2 separate regions of the Homo sapiens genome follow, and region 2 is linked to region 1. The links are contacts of gene promoters, found by promoter capture Hi-C in blood cells and fetal thymus (Javierre and others, 2016). All regions are on one chromosome and are shown on one strand. The core of a region is centred on a gene start or on the middle of the fragment in contact, and the rest is flanking DNA. Distances in the headings are between cores, read along the strand shown. Region 1 holds the start of IL1A (interleukin 1 alpha). Region 2 has its middle 24 kb from the start of IL1RN.

Region 1 (4,014 bases), core at 734-3,233:
TCTGCTCTGTTCTGGGAGAAGCCAATGCACATCAACTATTAGTTTAGAGAGGCAGCTGGTCTCACTTATAATGAAAGACAGGTCTCTGGACCTCTAGTGAGGGTAAAACAAAAGTATTGAAGATTCAAGTCATTGCTGTTCTCTTTGGATGAAGAAACCACTGTGTAAGAATAGCAGTCCCATGAGAATTACAGTCATTTGCTTACCTGATTCAGAGACAGATGATCAATGGAGGAACTGTCTTCTTCATTTTCACTGTCAAAATAAGATGATGAGAATGTAATTGTTGTTATTTCAGTGTGGTCTCTGGCCAATGTACTTTAATGACCATGATAGTTGTGGGTCACACACATACACATGGCCATTACTGTCATCTTTGAAATTTAAGGACTTCTACACATACACATAGGTAGAGTAATTCATATCTTACTAATCTGGAATTAGTAGTCATCAAGACAGGCTTTGAGCTTTACCTGTGCTTTATCTGTAAAAATTGGACTTGGCTAACAAATTGAAGAGCTTTAATTGAAGTTCAGGGAAGAATGTTAAGCTCCTTTAGAGAAAAGAAAGGTTTTGAAGCACTTCCTTTTTATTTTAACCAAATAGATTATATGTTACACATTACTTTCATGTATTCACTAAAACAGATTTCATAATTTATACTTAGTAAAATATCCAGGCAAAATTTTGACAGCCTAGTTTGTGTTAGTATTTACTACAGATAATGGAAACATCATGTTAGTTTAATATGTTCCGTAATTTTATCTTTGTGTTCATTTACCTTTCTTCTACATCTGAGTGAGATTTGCCTGCATATGTGAGTTCACATGCCCAGCTTGCTGTGGAGCCATTTCCTGTTCCTGAATGAGATCAAGTTTTCCTGAGAATGGACCAGTAAAACCCATTCTTATATCAGGGCATGTGATCTCAACAGAGGCTGTGTCTAAGTTGATGCTGATATTCATGTAGGGCTCAGCAGACCTCAAAAATAATTTTTCTAAAATGGCGGTCTCCCTGCCAATGTAATCTCAGTTTAACATGCTGAATGCTTAGTTTTTCTGGGTCTTCTCTGAACCTGCTCTGACTTCAGGACTAGTACACATCTCTACAACCTCTGCCGGCCTGCCCCCATGCTGGCCACTGTTATGCCTAGCTGGATTCTGGTGAGCCTTGAAACCCTCATTAAATCACAAGAGATAAATCTTATTCCTTACCTGTAACAGTTCTTCAGGTCTTCAAACATGTCTGGAACTTTGGCCATCTTGACTTCTGCAACAGAGAACACCAGCCACCATCAGCTCAGCCAGCCTCTAATCCAGATATCTGTGAGGGGAGCCCCTCCTCTTTGTGCTTCCTGAAAACTTTGTTGAATGACTTAGTCCACATTCAGCATTTTCTCCATCTTCTAGCTCCTTTGAATTAGTTTGCTATGTACCTGTCTCCTTTATTAGATCGTAAACTTCTTTTAGAATGTTTTATTTATGTTGGTATTCCTTATGTGCCCAACCTAATGTATTGCCAGAACAGGCATTCAATCAATGAAAGTTTGAAGAGGTTACAAAAACACCACAAGAATAAGGTATTTGCCTTACACAGAGGTAAGAGAGAGACAGAGTTGGAAATTTTCAATTTTCTCCTAATAATTTTGGATAGTAGAGATTCCCTCCCATGAGAAGCCTCAGTTGTATTCACCCATGCCCTCATAGGAAACTAGTTCTGCTGTCCCTCAGTATAACGAATCAGTCCTTATCAGCAAAATGAGAGAATCATTTTCTGAAATCTGACTGTAATTCTAGGTCACATACCAAACCAGGGAGGGACAAGAAAAGAAAGGAGAGGCTGTAGCTTTAGAGAAGGCAATGTGAGAGAAAACAGCCAAAGAGAAAAACAACAACAGAAAATACTTTAATAGCCAGAGATGTGAGGACAATACCTTTGCTGACTCAAACGCCAATGAAATGACTCCCTCTCTGGCTGGCAGCTTAAGCCTGAGTCAGTCTTCTTCGCCTTTTGTAATTGTCTTAAGTAGGCGTGGCTACGTGGCTACAAGTGCGTCGTCAAAACGGGGAATTTACAGGGAAGAATTCAGTTTTGTATTTTTCTATGTTCATTCAACTCGATACTGGCTAAAATAGTGAAAGATGGCATAGCTGATATTATTGTTGTTTGCAGATATTCCAGAAGTTATTGATTTGGTTCATTTATTCACCCCTTTGCTTTATAAGATGACAAACATGTAGTCTTAGAAAAAGGGAAGCGCGGGAAACTTATCAAGTTTCTAGGAGGAAGGGAGAAATCGTGAAATCCGAAGTCAAGGGGCTAGATTTGGAGAGGAATTTATTAATAATAATAGTTCTAATAGTAGCTGTAGTTGTGTTCTGGCTGAATTTGTTGATTGTGCTCCAGGGTGAATTGGCAGAATACTTGGCAGCTCCTGGCAACTTTTGAGGGAAAATGAGCCATCTTTTCTGAAGAGGGAAGTTTGCTTGATTAAGGCATAAATCACCTCAGAGTTTGGGGTGACAAGCTCCTGGTTAGGGCAGGGTAGAGAAGAGAACAGTGGTATTTGAGCACAAAGAAGTCTTGATCCTCTTACTCTTCTGAATATTGTCAACACATTTCCTATAGAGGGGATGGAGCTTCAGGAGAGAACTCTCCACCCTGGCCCTGTTACAGTAAAGTAGCCCTCTACCAAGGACCAGAGAGAAGCCTGGTCTTCTGTAGGATATGCCCAAGGTGTGTCTTCTGTAGAAGAAGGTGTGTGCAAGCCCCGGGAGGTATGCGTAAGGCCTCAGCCAGAAGCCAGTGGCTAAGTTTGGGAATGGAGATTGGGAGAAAGGAAGGCATGGATTTTTACATATGAGCCTTCAATGGTGTTGCCTGGTTACTATTATTAAAGAATTTCTCAGCTTTTATAATTCCTGTGGCCAGCCTAGTTCAGGTGGTAGAACACCAGACTCTTAGCAAATGAATGTTTTGGGTTCCCAGTTGGAGTTTAAGCCATGTATATTTTAAATAGAGGAAATGAACTAGGTGTGATGGCATGCCCCTGTAGTCCCAGCTATTCAGGAGGCTGAGGCAGGACAATCACTTGAGGCCCAGAGTTTTAGTCCAGTGTGGGCAACATAGTGAAGCCCCCATCTCTAAAAAATAATAAACGCAAAAAAGCATGGATCTGGGAGGAAAGCAGCTTGTGTGAGTTGGATAAAGTATTCCCTCTGTTCCTGTTTAATTGTAAATAATGGGGTTGGTTAGGTGTCATAAGGTCTATTGCAGGTGCAAAATCTCTTATTCTGATTTAATGCCAGTCTAATTCTCCTGGTCATAGACCTGGTGCTATAATAGTTATAACAGGAGCCACAGAAATAACCACACTTGGATGTAAGCAATGTAAGTGTAGCACCAGACTAGGGTAGAAGCTTGGGTGTCTAAGGATGAATCCTGAAGCAACAGTGATGCCAGCCAACTGGCTACATTTCTGCTTACCTTGGTTCCTCTTTAGGCAACACAGAAATGTTAATCCTGATTAACCCTCTCCTCCTGAGAATCTTGTGAGGGCTATTGCTAAGGAACAATTGCAAAGCACATTGTGAATGTGAGCTGCTATGGAGATGCAACTAAACAAAAATAATGACAATGCTAATGATGGCTTCAGTCACTCAAGAACCTGTATAGTCATCATTATAATGCCTCAGTTCACCAAAGAAAATATAGTTCTTATGAAAATACTGGCTTGAAAGCTTCAACAGGGATAACATTTTCAGGTGAAGGCCACCATTGAAAGCCTGAAGATATTTAGCTTCTGGGAGCAATGCATACCATCTCTTTGGTAATCCAGGAAAAAAACCCTGGTTCCACCAACATAGGCAATACCTATCCTGGTCCCATCCTCACTCCTCTGTTGTAAATAATTCCCCAAAGGTGGTTGTTGAATTTTTCAAAGAGAACTTGGTTGAGAAACAGCTAACTTGGGTTAGAATATCACCCAACCTTTTCCTTCACATGATCTTCTTG
Region 2 (4,014 bases), core at 776-3,275, 320 kb after region 1:
CAGTAGCATAGAAGGCAGATTGGAGCTGGGGAAGAGAGACTTTTTTATTCTTTTTTTATTTTTATTTTTTGAGATGGAGTTTCTCTCTTGTTACCCAGGCTGGAGTGCAATGGCGTGATCTTGGCTCACTGCAACCTCCACCTCCCCAGTTCAAGTGATTCTCCTGCCTCAGCCTCCCAAGTAGCTGGGATTACAGGTGTGCGTTATCACACCCGGCTAATTTTGTATTTTTAGTAGAGACAGGGTTTCTCCATGTTGGTCAGGCTGGTCTCGAACTCCCGAACTCAGGTGATCTGCCCACCTCGGTCTCCCAAAGTGCTGGGATTACAGGTGTGAGCCACCGTGCCCCGCCCGAGACTTTTTTTCTTAAGGAGATTGTCTTAGTCACCTCAGACTGCCATAACAAAATACCACAGGCTGGGTGGCTTAACCAACAGGAAGAATGTATTTGCTCCCAGTTCTGGAGGCTGTGATCAAGTCTCAGATCATCCACTTGCTGGCTGGCAGACAGCTACCTTCTCACTGTGGCCTTTCCTTGGTGTCTGTGCAGGCACGGGGACAGTGAGAGCTCTCTGGTGTCTCTACCTCTTCTTATAAGGACACCAATTCTATTGTGTTAGGGCCCCACCCTTATTTAACCTCAATTACTTTCTTATAGGCTCTATCTTCAAATACAGCCACACTGGGAGTTAGGACTTTGATATGTGGATTGTGGAGGGATTCAGTTCACACAGAGCTATTGCAATGGTTTGGACAAGCAGCTCTAATTGGGGAAGGGGGAAGCCTGTAGGCATGGGAAGGAGAGGTCAGGCGTGTCACGTGCGTCTGTGTGAAAAGACCACCAAACAGGCTTTGTGTGAGCAACAAGGCTGTTTATTTCACCTGGGTGCAGGTGGGCTGAGTCTGAAAGAGAGTCAGCGAAGGGAGATGGGGTGGGGAGGTTTTATAGGATTTGGGTAGGTAGTGGAAAATTACAGTCAAAGGGGGTTTCTCTCTTTGGGCAGGCGTGGGGGTCACAAGGTGCTCAGTGGGGGAGGTTCTGAGCCAGGAAAAGGAATTTCACAAGGTTAATCGCTCAGTTAAGGTGGGGCAGGAATAAATCACAATGGTGGAATGTCATCAGTTAAGGCAGGAACTGGCCATTTTCACTTCTTTTGTGATTCTTCACTTGCTTCAGGCCATCTGGATGTATATGTGCAGGTCACAGGGCATACATTGGCTTAGCTTGGGCTCAGAGGCCTGACAAGGCACAGAAGGAGCTGGGATAGAGGTGCAAAGTACTCATGCTGACCTGACATCCCATGCCCACGGCAGACATGACTACTTGATCGGACAATACTTTCTTGGAATCAAAGACACAACTTCACAGTCCTCAGCATCATAGTTCAGGCAGCCTGTATCAGTAGATCAGAGTGGGCACATGGCCTGGTGCTATCACTCCATCCTGTGAGGGGAGATGGGATTGGAATGGAGGTGGAGGAGTCACAGGTGGTCCTGATATCACAGGCCTGGGAGTCTGAAAGAAGTGCAGTAGGTAGTATTATGGCCCTCAAAGACATCTGTGTCCTACTGTCTAGAGTCAATTAAAGTGTTACCTAACATAGAAAAAAGGATTTTGCAGGTGGGATTAAACTAAGGATCTCAAGATAGAAAGACTCTCCTGGAGTATCCAGTTGTGTCCAATGTAAGAACAAGCGTTCTCAAAATAGGGACACAGGAGATTGAATTGCAAAGGAGATGTGCTGATAAACGGAGAGGTTGGAGTGATGCCGCCATGAGGCAAGGAATGTGGGTGGCCTCTAGCAGCTAGCAATGATTCGGAAATGGATTCTCCCCCAGAGTCCAGAAAGATCACAGCAGTGCTGACACCTTGATTTGAGCCCAGTGTCACCTCTGTCAGACTTCTGCCCTATAGAACTGTAAGAGGATAAATTTGTGTTTTAAGGCACAAAGTTTATGGTAATTTGTTATAGCAGCAATGGGAAACTAATACAAGAAGGGTTGTGTTATCAACAGAAATACAGCAATCAGAAGAAAGATGGTTGGGGAGAGCAGAGGGTGGGGTGGGAAGGTGATGGATTCTGTTTGGGACATTCTGGGTGTCATATGAATATTATTGGGGAACTGTCCATCAAAAGCTCAGACTTCAAAGAAAGAAAGGAAGGAGCAACAATATTTTGAAAGGGAGAAAGTAGGTAATATTCAATATGTGTTGAGTACCTACAAGGTTTTTAGTTCTTTCACCAAGTTATTTTATTTAATTTTTATGGCATCAAGGGGTGTTTTTTTTTTTTCTTAAACCAAATTTTCTCAGTTAAGCATCCCATGTAAGTGGCCAGGGGTTAAGAGATGTGACTAAGACTAGACAGAGTGATTTTCATCATTACATGGTACTATGGTTCTACTGAAGCACTGAGGAAGGAAGTCAAGAGAGTTCCTGAGAAATGTCTGGAGTCTTAGTAACATGCAAAGTGAGGCAGAGGTATTGTCAGTGTTAGCTGGTCACTTTGAAAGGTTAGAGGTAAATAAAGTTCAGGGCAATGGTACTTGGAGAGGAGTGAATCTTTGGTAACCTGGAGGAGATGCTTCTCAGAGGAAAATTTCTTCACAGCATGAAGTCACCAGCTCTAAGACTAGTGGGTGTTCTGGGGGATGTTAGCAGTGACTCACTGACTGTTGGCCCAGTGAGGGGAGGGATGAAAGGCTGGGTAGTGGGTAGAGAATCTGACTCCTCCTGCCCCCACATGTCTATTCCTGGGCCTTCTCATGGTGGGGGCAAAAGGTATGCAAAGGGATTTCCGCAGTGTCTGAGTGCTCCCAGGAGACGGAAAAGTAACTGATGACTTGGAGTTGGAGTCTTGTTGGCTCAGGCAGCTGGGGCGTTTTGGGATTTCAACACCTCCCTTTAGTTTCTATGTATGGTGCTGAGCAAGTAGTCAAAGACTTTGGTCTTGCTTTACCCCAGTAGCCCACAAGCCTGAGTACATGGCTAACATTTATTGGGCACTTAGTGTGTGCCAAAGAGCTTTATGAGACAGGTTCTTTTTGAGTCCCATTATACTGATAATGGGACTGATAAGAAACAGAAGGTCAGAAAGGCCCAGTAACTTGGGCAAGGTCATGTAGCTAGTAAGTGGTCCAGCTGAAATTTAAAACCAGGTTTATCCAACTCCAAATCCCACATCTGATTTATTTTGCCATGAATTAAAACATAGTTCTGATTTTGAGAAACTCCCAGTCCCAGTGGGAAAACAGATGGAATCACAAATTACCATAACACAGTGTAGTGATGTAGATATAAAAACAAAGACATGGGAACCCTGAAAGGAAGTTGTAACACCAATAGAGGAATGCACGGAGGAGATCTTTCAGAGGAGGTAGCCTCGTAGCTGGGCTCAGGGGTGGATGAGTTTCTGGCTAGAAGCGCATTGTGGGTAGAGGGAGAACATATATAGAAAGGCATGAAGATGGTGGACATGTTTGGAAAGAGTGAGTACTAGACTGATGAACACGATGAGTCAGGAGCTTATGACGTCAGGGGCTACTGCTAGCCTAGCTAATGACTGAAGATTCTGTGAAAAGAAAACCCTAACATTTCCAGCTGAGTACTAGGGCCATGGTGATTATATATCATCTCTCATGACAACACAAATGTTTGGGCTTACTTATCATCCTGCTCAGTAATCATTATGTCACTCATTAAAGATGTATCAGGGTAAATTTTAGGTGAGAATTGATTAGAAATGTAAACTCTATATATGTAGTTACAGGCTTCACAGTTTGCCACTCAAACAATATGGTCATCCAATCATGAGGCACAACCTTCTGCTCAGAACTTTTTTATAATTGGGAGAAAGTGACATCCGAGTTCCATCTCTTCTGAGAACTGTGCAGCTCAGAAATCTTCTTCCCTTTTTTGATCCCCCAGTTGGGTGAGATGACATTAACAGTGTGTTATAAGCACTTTTCATGTTTACTACCCCATATTCAAAATTAAGCATTTCAAACAACTGT

What was found. The method cuts DNA at HindIII sites, captures the fragments that hold promoters and counts their contacts. A CHiCAGO score of 5 or more calls a contact.
Region 2: a contact is called between a fragment that was not itself captured here and the fragment with the promoter of IL1A in region 1, in 1 of 17 cell types (neutrophils). The highest score is 5.4, in neutrophils.

Annotation. Positions count from the first base shown.
Region 1 is chr2:112,782,510-112,786,523 of GRCh38, forward strand. IL1A (interleukin 1 alpha) reads right to left here and starts at 1,984. Exons shown (of 7, transcript NM_000575.5): 1 at 1,934-1,984; 2 at 1,215-1,269; 3 at 207-255. The coding sequence starts at 1,261. The HindIII fragment of the contact is 4,198 bases long and covers 1-3,417 here.
Region 2 is chr2:113,101,715-113,105,728 of GRCh38, forward strand. It overlaps a transcript of IL1RN not described here. Among named protein-coding and RNA genes, the nearest start is that of IL1RN, 24 kb to the right of the region's middle. The HindIII fragment of the contact is 5,174 bases long and covers 1-4,014 here.